Linked DNA regions of Homo sapiens: all the other regions are linked to region 1. The links are contacts of gene promoters, found by promoter capture Hi-C in blood cells and fetal thymus (Javierre and others, 2016). All regions are on one chromosome and are shown on one strand. The core of a region is centred on a gene start or on the middle of the fragment in contact, and the rest is flanking DNA. Distances in the headings are between cores, read along the strand shown. Region 1 holds the start of MPPE1 (metallophosphoesterase 1). Region 2 has its middle 42 kb from the start of ANKRD62. Region 3 overlaps GNAL (G protein subunit alpha L).

Region 1 (3,461 bases), core at 89-2,588:
CAACCATCTGCATGGACCCCACCAAGGGCATTCCAGAGTTAACCTTGTTTTAGGTTGTTTTAAGCAAAACTTGTTTAGGCCATGATGGGAAGTGGGGGTGGAACTTGACACATTTCATCCTCCTCCCTTTTAGAATTCAGGAAAAGCAGACCAGCATTTAACATGCTGGACACTTAACTTACCTGGAGGCTTCATCTGCATGATAAAACTTCAGTCTCCACAGCCTCTTATTGTAACCCAAACATTCCTTTCCATTGATAATAAATCTTTCAACCAAATGCCAATCAGAAAATTTTCAATCTACCTATAACCCGGAAACCCCCGACCCACCCACCTCCTCAGCTGTCATACCTTTATGGACCGAACCAATGTACATCTTAATCTTACATGTATTTGACTGATGACTCATGGCTCCCCTAAAATGCATAAAACCACACTGGGCCCCGACCACCTTGCGTACGCGTTCTCAGGGTCTCCAAATGGCTGTGTCACCAGCCATGGTCACTCATATTTGGCTCAGAATTAATCCCTTCAAATATTTTATAGAGTTTTGACTTTTTGTCAACCGCAGGCTGCGTCACAGCTCGCTGCAGCCCCAAACTCCTGCGCTGAAGCGATCCTTTCCCCCACAACTTCTCGAGTAGCAGGGACTTCAGGTGCGTGCCACTACACCTGGCTTTTTTTTTTTTTTTTTTTGGTACTTTTGTTGTTATGGTGGGGGCGGGGGACTTGCTATGTTGCCCAGGCTGGTCTCGCATCTCTGGGATCAAGCCATCCTCCCACTTCAGCGTCCCAGAGTGCTGGAATTACAGGCCTAAGCAACGGCACCCAGCCTATCTTTTAATTTTTAACTTCAAAGTTATCGTTAAAAATCTAATCCCCCCAAAATATGAAAAAAATACTTAATATGCACTGACCTGTAGTTTTTCTCTAATTCACTATCTTAAATATATTAATTGCAATCTCATCAACTGCGACTTGCATTTGAAATTTTCCACCTTAAACGGTATTTTTTGATAAGATGGATTTTTTAAAAAATCTACACCAGCAAACTAGAGTGAGAGACCCCTGCAAAGTAATACATGGGCCTTAAGTCACCGAGATTTTCCAGCAAATAATTTGCAGAATGCTGTTTTTCCTAGGTTAACTTGCAATCCTAACACGGAAGGAGGTTCCGTTTTTAGAAGTTTAAATGTTGTCACACGGGCGCAAGAATACATACAACAGCCATGCTTTCCAGCTCTGCGCACAACGCCAGGCAGATGGGGAGCACCGGGCGGTGCGGGAGCCCTTTCACCAGGGCAGGGTGGCTTCGGTGGCCGAGGGACCCGGGAACTGCAGCCGGAGCCGGCGCGCACCCAGCCAACTTCCTGTTTCCGCGGTAGCGCGCGGGCCTGTCACTGAAGCCCCGCCCCGGCGACCTCAGGCGGGCGGGGAAGACCGAGTCTTCCCGGAGCCGCTTCGTCCGCCCGGCGCCGGAGTCCCACGGCCGGTTTGCGGAAGCGGGTCGTCTGAAGGGGCCCGGCGGGTGGCTCCCGGGTCTCCGCGGCCTGTGATCCCCAGAGCGGACAACCGCAGCTGGGGCTCCGTGCGCAACTCGGAGTAAAGGCCGGAACCTACGCTCGGCGGCCGCGTCCCGGCCCCTAGCGCCCTCCGCGAAGTGCCTGGCAGGCTCGGCAGTCTGAGTGTCGCGTTACAGAGTCCCCTGGGCAGTCACCGCTGAAGGGCGGGGGACGCGGGAAAGGCATTTTGGGGACACAGGAGAGCTGCGAGGGCGAAGCACGGGCGAGCTGTCGTTAGGGCCCAGGAAAGGCCCGTTGCGGGGCGCACAGGCGGGCAGGGGAACTCGCGCCCCGCGCCGCGCGCCCGGCCTCCTGACGCCAGGGCCGGCTTCTGAGCACAGCCACCGCGGCGGCCGGGGGCGGCCACTGCTCCCCGCGAGCCCGCTTCCGCGCCCCAGAAGCCCCCAGAGCCCGCGTCCGAGCTCCAGGCCTTGGAGGAGCCAGGCGGGCAGCTGACAGCCCCGGAGCCGCTCCCGGGTTCCGCGCGCGGTGGCAGCCAGGCCGTGCCTCCCCGTTCCCCTCCCGCGCCGCGCTGCCCCTCCGGGACCCACCAGGCCTGGCTGCGCCTCTTTCCTCTCCTCCCCCGGAGCCTTGGAAAGTGCCCTCCAGAGATGTGCTTAGGAAGTGTGTGATGAATAAAGGAGACAATCAGGATAACTATAATATTTATTATGCACTTGCTTTTTTCTCACTGATGTTACTAATTTTAATGGTGTAGCGCGGCGCGTTCCAGTTTTCTAAGTGCTCTCACATCCGTTCAAAAAATCCTCAAAATAAGCCTGTATATTAAAAGCAGGAGCCATTATTTCATATTTCAAGAAGTAAACATGCTCAGAGTAATAATCCACATAGAGCCTTCCAACCAGTCAATTCTGGTACATTTTCACAAATCTATGAGTGTGGTTAATACACGGAGATGTGGTTTGAGGAATTATATAGGACACAGCCAGCAAAATGCCTGGTATACAATAAGTATGCGGTAAATGGTTATTATTATTAAGAATATTGTAATATCTTCAGATATGATCAGGTGAACAACTTTGACATAATCGAAACTGGGACAGCCTGATTCCATAAACACACTAATATGGCACCGTGGATTGTTTGCAGCCTCACCTCTAAAGTATTCTCTCTGACTAACAAAGAAAGGGAAACTAGAACCAGTTAAGCTTATAACACTAATCACAGGCTAAAGGAAATACAGGGGCCAAATGAACCCATTAGATTACACCACCAGGAAGTAATCTGCCAAATCCAGAATGTGGGAAATTCTACAAACCAAATGACCCAATTTCTTTTTTCAAAAATAAATGTTCAGAGGCTGAAGTGGGAGGATTGCTTAAGGCCAGAGTTCAAGGCTGTAGTGAGCTATGATCACAGCTGTGAATAGCCACTGCACTCCAGGCTGGGCAACACAGCTAGACCCCCCATGTCTTTAAAAAAAAGAGGGTGGGGGGACCTTGAGAGACACATTAGCCAAATGCAATTTGTGGACCTTGTTTGGGTCATGATTAAGACAAACAAACTTTTACATAAATAAATGGCATTTTTAAAAACATTGGCGGCCAGGCGCGGTGGTTCTTGCCTGTAATGCCAGCACTTTGGGAGGCCGAGGCGGGCAGATCAGGAGGTCAGGAGATCAAGACCATCCTGGCTAACACGGTGAAACCCCGTCTCTACTAAAAAAAAAAAAAAAAAAAAAAAAATTAGCCGGGTGTAGTGGCAGGTGCCTGTAGTCCCAGCTACTCGGGAGGTTGAGGCAGGAGAATGGTGTGAACCCGGGAGGCAGAGCTTGCAGTGAGCCCAGATCACGCCACTGCACTCCAGCCTGGGCGACAGAGTGAGACTCCATCTCAAAAAAAAAAAAAAAAATTGGGAAACTTAAACATGGACTGAATG
Region 2 (3,800 bases), core at 687-3,186, 140 kb after region 1:
ATGAAAAGGGAAGCTAGGCAAATACTGAAACTTGCAACCACAATATCTCATTACTTTGCTGAATAAATTGTATAAATTTAAAATAGAAAAGTCACAGCACTCCCTGCCTAGGCCAAGTAACTATTGGTAGTGCTCACAAGCCTGCAGGGCTTGGAGGATCTCCTGATCCCAGGCAGTACCTTCAAGTCCCAAATGTTGTGGAAGTGCAAAGGATCTCCCAGGCACGCTATTAGCCTTTGCCTTTGGAGCTCCACAGCCACTATCTTATTGGAGTAGCTGTAGTTGCAGATCTCAGTTCCCTTTTTCAAGTGGCAAACCTTTAGCTTCCTCTGAGCTTTGAGGTTCAAAATGGCCACTAAGGTGCTTGACAACAATTTTCTATAATGCACGCATCTTCGGTATCAGTGCAATTCAGGGATCTGTTCCAGCTTATCCACAGAAGAAGGGAGAAAAATTTATAACTGGACTTACTACCCACAGCTAGGGATGTGTCCTTGTTGGAGTTGGCCCAGCTGGCACCGGCCTCTGATCTGGCTCCCCCGGTTCACAGCTGGGTGCACAGGGGTTGCGATGTGCTCAGGGTGTGCGCCAGTCCCACTTTCTGCCTCGGTGGCTGCCACTACCTCTCTGGGATCAGCCACAACCTTGTCCCGTCCCTCCTTGTTTTTCTAGTTTCTTGAAGTAGAAAGTTAATTATCGTTTTGAGGCCTTTCCTCTTTTCTGAGGTTAACATTTAGTGCTGTTAATTTCCCTATCAGCAGGGCTTTATTCAATTCCATGAATTTCTAAAATTTATTTTGAGGCTTTTTCTTTGATCCAAATATTATTTAGAAGTCTGTTGTTTCATTTCCAAGTGGTTGGATATTTTGCTGTTGTCTTTCTACTATGAATTAATTCATAGTTTGATTCATTTCATTATGGCCAGAAAACACACTCGGAATGATTTCAGTTCTTTTATACCTGCTGAGGTTGGTTTATGGCCCAGGATATGGTTTATCTTCCTGAATAGTCCATGAGCACTTGAGAAAAAGTGTATATTTTGCTGTTGGGCACTGTTCCGTAAATGTTGCTTCTACCCTATTGGTTGATGGTGCTCTCCTGTTCTATGTCTGCTAGTAATTTAACGCCTAGTGATTCTACCAACTGCTGAGAGTGAGGTGGTCAGACTTACAACTAGAATTTAAAATGTGCCTATTTCTCCTTTCAGCTCAGTCAGTTTTATTTTGTGTACTTTGAGGTTCTTTTGTTTGGTGGGGACATATTTAGGATAACTGCATTTTTGTTGGATTGATACTTTTATCGTTATATAGTGATCTTTTTGCCCACGAGTTTTCTTTGCTCTAGAGTCGACTTTATGTGATATCAATGGGGCCACTCTTACTTTGATTTGAATAATGTTTGTATGGTATATCTTTTTCTATTCTTTATCAACTCATGTTGTTAACTATGTTATGAATTTCCTATAAATATTTTAGAATTATGTTTCTTGTTCTTTCCACTCTGTCAATTTGTATTTTGATACACATTGATTATTTACATTTAAGATAAATATTGCTATGTTAGGCTGCTATTTTATTTGTTTTGTTTTCTCGGTTTTTCATTCATCTATTACCATTTTCTTATTTTCCTGTTGGTTATATCAACATTTTTTAGATTCCATCTTGTTTATTTGCAGTGTTTCTAAGCACAATACTCTTTATCGTTTTCTTAGCAGTTCTAGATATTAAAGTGTGCATATGTAACTTATCACAGTCTATTAGTCAGCATTTTACCACTTCAAGTGAAATGTAGAAAGCTTCATTCTACTTAGATCCCTTTACCCTCCCCCCTTTTAAATAGAATTAAGTATTTCCTCTACATACAGAGCATTTTTCTCCAAACATCAAATATGATGTCAGAAACTCATGAGAAACAGATTCTATTACATTTCCCCCTATTTCTGCCAACCTCCAATGTTCTTTCTTTCCTGTGTTCCCAGCCTTCCTGCGTTATATACTTTCTATTTAGAGAACCTCCTCTAGTCATCTTTTTAAAGGTAGGTTTGCTAGCAACATTTTCTCTTAGTTTTCCTGTCTGGTAAGCTTTTTATTTCCCTTTGTTCATGAATATAGTTTCAAAAGATAGAGAATTTTGTTATGGTTCTTTTCTTTCAGTATCTGAGAAAATGTCCTACACTTCCTTCTGGCCACCATGGATTCAGATGAGAAATCTGCCATTCTTTTATGTAGGGAATGTGTTATTTATCTCTGGTTACTCTGAAGATTTTGTCTTTAGTTTTCAAAAATTTAATTATGATTTGCCTTCACCATGGATTTATTTAAAATTATCTTATTTGATGTTATCTCAGATTCTTGAATGTGTAGTTTCATAACTTTTGCTAAATTTGGGACATTTTCAGCCATTATTTTTTAAAATACTTTAAATACCTCTCTCCTTTCCTTCTGGTACTCTGATGTTACAAATATTCGTTATATGGTTATCACCCCACTTTCTAAATATTGAGAGAATCAAATCTCGTCTCATTCCCTTTAGGCCTTTCGGTTTTGTCCAAGCCACCACAATCACTCAGGAGGGAAACGACCACAGCTCCTTAATGAGCTCTATATGTTATGCCCTGCCTAGTATTTTCTCTATAGAGAAAATATACAGAAATATAGAGAAAACTCCCATACAAACATAAACCAGACGTTGCTCATTTGTTGAAAATCTACCACTAAATTAAGAATAAAATGAATTTACTGAATAAAGCTTACGATAGGCTCACCTTTGGAGTCTACTGCCTCCTGACATCACCTCCTGCCTTCTCCCTTCAGCCACTGCGACTTTTTTTGTTATTCCTCAAAACCACCAAGCACATTCCTGCCCATGGCTAGCAGCTGCTGTTACCCCTGCTAAAAAGAGGCAGAATCCTCATGTCTCACAGTCATTTCAGTCAAATTTCTGCTCTTCTGTTGATCTCAGTAAAGTTTCCCATGACTATTCCTTCAAGAAGCCCACTCAGTCTAATCTTGCTTTATTTTTTTTAATAGTCTTTAAAACCACAGAACATTTAATATACATGAACATCTGTTTATGTGTTTAGTGCTACTTCTGTGAATTCATTTAGAGGCAAAAAATTATCAAGTCTGCACAACATACCTGAAACGATTATAATTTCTGGAAATACTAAGATTACTAAAAACCTTCTTGTATTCATGGAGCATAAAGTCTGGTAAGAAAATATGTTACAATGGTGAAAATACACAGAAGATTGGCTAATTCTATAAATAAGGAAGTAAGTTGGTTCTGTTTTGAGCTTCACTGAGGAAGCACAGCTGTTGGTTGAAGTATTAGTATGCTGTGTCCTTCATAAGCACAGAGCCATGGCACAGGCAAAGGTGGGGGCCTCCAGCACGTAAAAAATTAGCAAAAGGGCAAACAGCACAGGAGATGAGAATATGGCCTGGTGCCTTCATGAGAAAAATGGCCAGGGAAGTATTCAGGGAATGGGCTACAGAGCAACAGACTCCAAAGCATTTGATCATTTACTATTTTCTAGAATATTATTCAGCATTACAGATTTATATTTAAAAATTATAAAAATAAATAATAAATTCATTTATTATAAATAATTCTTATTTGGATTTTAAAATGAAGAAAACAGCCTAATATTTTATTTATTTTATTGCAATATGTATTCTGGGTTCTAATCCTTTAATTCAGAGACAATAAGGATGTGTAGAAAATGGAAAGATTTTTGAACTGTTATACTTGAAATTTCTGCAGAGTATATAGGAGATGACCAGTTGGATCTTTCTGAA
Region 3 (3,361 bases), core at 489-2,988, 180 kb before region 1:
CTCTGCCAGCTTCTCTGCTGCTCTCCATCTGGGCGGAGCCGCAGGGTGTCAGGCATCCCAAGCCTGGGAGTCCCCACACTTTCCCACCTGCCTTGTGGGGTAGCAGCCCCAGACCCTGTCCCTGGGCCGTCTTTTTATTTCTTTATCTACCAGCTACCTTTTCAAATAAATGTGAGCCCTGGAGTTTGAGACCAACCTGGGCAAGAGACCCCTCTCTACAAAAAATAAAAAATTTCCTGGGCATGGTGGTGCCCACCTGTGGTCCTAGCTGTTCCAGTAACGGATGGGCTGCAGCTTCTGCTCCCCTCATCTTCTGCCTAAACCGGGACCCCAAACGGAAATGATAAGCCTGAAACTCAAAGGCAGAATGTCGGATGTGGAGGCATTTATTGAGCCAATTGTATAAGGATATTGTACATCTCTTGTTTTAATCCAGACCCTTTTCCATTGTAAATGGTAGAATTCTAACTCAAACAAGTGTAAGGTAGAGAGGAGGAGTTTTTTTGACTCAGGTAATCAGGGTTTTAAAGGCAAAAAGTGGGGAAAGAGAGTAGTCTGATACAAAATTATTTGTCAGGAATTTTCATTCGTTTACAGAAGTAACATTGATTAGTAACTGGCTATACATTTTAACCTATGGAGTGTGGGCTATGGTGTCCAGTGTGGCATTGTTAAGTTAATTTATAGCTATTTGTGGCAACAGAAGGCAGTTTTAAGAGATGAATACAGGCTGGCATGATGGCTCGTGCCTATAACCCCAACAATCTGGGATGCTGAGGCAGGAAGATCACTTGAGGCCAGGAGTTCGAGACCAGCCTGGGCAACATAGGCAGAGTTTGTCTCTATAAAAAATCAAAAAATTAGCTGGGTGTGGTGATCTGTGCCTGTGGTCCCAGCTACTCAGGAGGATCCCTTGAGCCCAGGAGATTGAGGCCACAGTGCGCTGTGATCACACCACTCCACTCCAGCCTGGGTAACAGAGTAAGACCCTATGTCTTTAATTAACAACAGCAACAAAAGATGAATACATAGCTCAAAATGGTAGTGCAAGCAGGGGGTGGGGTGGGGGGAGTAAGGCATGATTGTTGTCTCATTTTAATGTCTCTCTGAGCCTGATGATTTAAAAGGACTCACATTCTTCAGGCAAAAGTTATTTACTTTTGGAAGTCCACCTGCTCTCACAGCCAGTGTCATGTAAGCTCTCTCCCCTGTCTTGATTCTGCCCTCTTCTGGCTGCATTTTTACACTTGCTTCCAGGAGCTCCACCTTCATCAAGTCTCAGCAGCACAGTGGAGAGAGGCTCTGGGGGCTCATTGCAATTCTGAGTTGGACAACTCAGGCGGGAGCTTAGAATTGTTTCTAACAGGTGTTTGTTCTTGTCCCAAACCTCAAAGTTTCTTTTTAAGATAAATCTGCTTAATAGTTTCTACAATTATTTCTGAACTTCATTTCACCCTCAGTCTTTGCACAGACATTGATTCCTTCACATTGTTCTTTTATTTTCTTACAGTGATGATACAGACAGAAATACAGATATTTGCTACATCTCTGTAAGAAAATGTAATATTCCTGGATTCCTGTCTTAGACGATGAGTTTTATATTGTGTAATACAAATCAATATTGCAAGCAAAAGACATTTATACATTTTGAAAACAAATTGTTTCCTTGGGAGCCTGCTGATGAAAGGCTGACTCCTCTTGGGAGAAATCACTCAAAGCTCTGAGAGTTTAAACACACTGGGATGGGATGGACGAGTTAGTACTGGTTAGTAGATAAAGTCTCCAAGAAACATCAGAGCCATTTGGGTGGGGAAGGGATCTCCAGCATCATATTTTTGATTTGCTCTTTGGTGTTTTTATTGATGATTTGGTATTTGGCCGCAAACGAGATAGTTAACCCAGATTTCTAAAATCCTGGAACTGAACATTTAGAATATGAAGACTGTGAGATCATAGGTTCATAGATGTGTTGGGTACAACATCTTCCATCAAAGAGAAAGGGGACATTTTTTTCCTGAGCGGTTAGAAGGAAAACATGCTTCCTGCCTATGGAGCAGTGGTCTTAGCGCTCCTCTTGCCCCACCTGTGTGGGTTTTCACTCTTTTGCCCACTCTGCCTTCCCTAAGCACAGTGAACCAGCTGGAGGATGCTCTCTGCTCACCAATTCCAGAGCTTCCCCGGCTTCCTCTGCCCTTGGAATCCCTCTCCCACACTCCTAAGTAGCCAGATCCTCTCCAGATTTAACGGTCGATTACAAGTGTTACCTCCTCTTTGAAACATTTTCTGACCCTCTGTGTTGGAAGTGCTCTTCCTTAAGTTTCCACTCGTTTTATTATGTACTTCCTTCATAATACTCATTACCTTTTATTGTAGATATTTGTAAGTTTCACTTAAATGCATTAGCAGATTATATATTCTGTGCGAGCCATATCCATTCTGATTCATTTCTGTATCCTCCACACCACCCAGCAGAATCTGGCATAAAATGCTGTAAACAGGAAAACCAAACCTTGTAAAATATTTTATTAATAAAGAGGTTTATTCTGAGCCAATGTGGCTGCTCGCGGCTGGCAGAAAACACAAACCCAGGAAGCCTTGATTAAGTCGCCCCGAGGCAGTTGGGTTACAGCTTGATTTTACACATTAGGGAGACTGGAGTTGCAGGTAAAATCATAAAGCAACACATGGAAATTCTACATTAATTTGGCCCAAAAAGGCGAGACATCTGGAAGCAGAGGCTTACAAGTCATAGGTGGGTTTTAGGGATTCTTTATTTAGTTGGCAATGGGTTGAAAGAGTTAAGTTTTTCTTTTCTTTTCTTTTCTTTTTTTTTTGAGACAGAGTCTCGCTCTTTCGCCCAGGCCGAACTGCAGTGGCGCTATCTCGGCTCACTGCAAGCTCTGCCTCCCAGGTTCACAACATTCTCCTGCCTCAGCCTCCCACTTTTTTTTTTTTTTTTTGAGGCAGAGTATCCCTCTGTCACCCAAGCTGGAGTGCAGTGGCACGATCTCAGCTCACTGCAGCCTCCACCTCCCAGGTTCAAGCGATTCTTCTGCCTCAGCCTCCTGAGTAGCTGGGATTACAGGTGCCGGCACCACGCCCAGCTAATTTTTGTAGTTTTAGTAGAGATGGGGGTTTCCCCACGTTGGCCACGCTGGTCTCGAACTCCTGATCTCAGGTAATCTGCCTGCCTCGGCCTCCCAAAATGCCGGGATCACAGGTGTGAGCCACCATACCTGGCCAAGTTAAGTTTTTCTAAAGACTTGCTGGGCACAGTGGCTCACGCCTGTAATCCCAGCACTTTGGGAGGCCAACGCAGGTGGATCACCTGAGGTCAGGAGTTCGAGACCAGCCTGGCCAA

The links. Contacts are between HindIII fragments. The CHiCAGO score rates a contact against its expected background, and 5 or more counts as called.
Region 2: a contact is called between a fragment that was not itself captured here and the fragment with the promoter of MPPE1 in region 1, in 2 of 17 cell types (total B cells and naive B cells). The highest score is 6.9, in total B cells.
Region 3: a contact is called between a fragment that was not itself captured here and the fragment with the promoter of MPPE1 in region 1, in 1 of 17 cell types (naive B cells). The highest score is 5.7, in naive B cells.

The regions. Positions count from the first base shown.
Region 1 is chr18:11,906,979-11,910,439 of GRCh38, forward strand. MPPE1 (metallophosphoesterase 1) reads right to left here and starts at 1,339. Exons shown (of 11, transcript NM_023075.6): 1 at 1,223-1,339. RefSeq lists a silencer at 1,732-2,131. The HindIII fragment of the contact is 5,797 bases long and covers 1-2,729 here.
Region 2 is chr18:12,050,187-12,053,986 of GRCh38, forward strand. No RefSeq gene overlaps it. Among named protein-coding and RNA genes, the nearest start is that of ANKRD62, 42 kb to the right of the region's middle. RefSeq lists an enhancer at 375-564. The HindIII fragment of the contact is 286 bases long and covers 1,794-2,079 here.
Region 3 is chr18:11,727,218-11,730,578 of GRCh38, forward strand. All of the region lies in intron 1 of GNAL (G protein subunit alpha L), which reads left to right. Among named protein-coding and RNA genes, the nearest start is that of GNAL, 40 kb to the left of the region's middle. The HindIII fragment of the contact is 3,948 bases long and covers 1-3,361 here.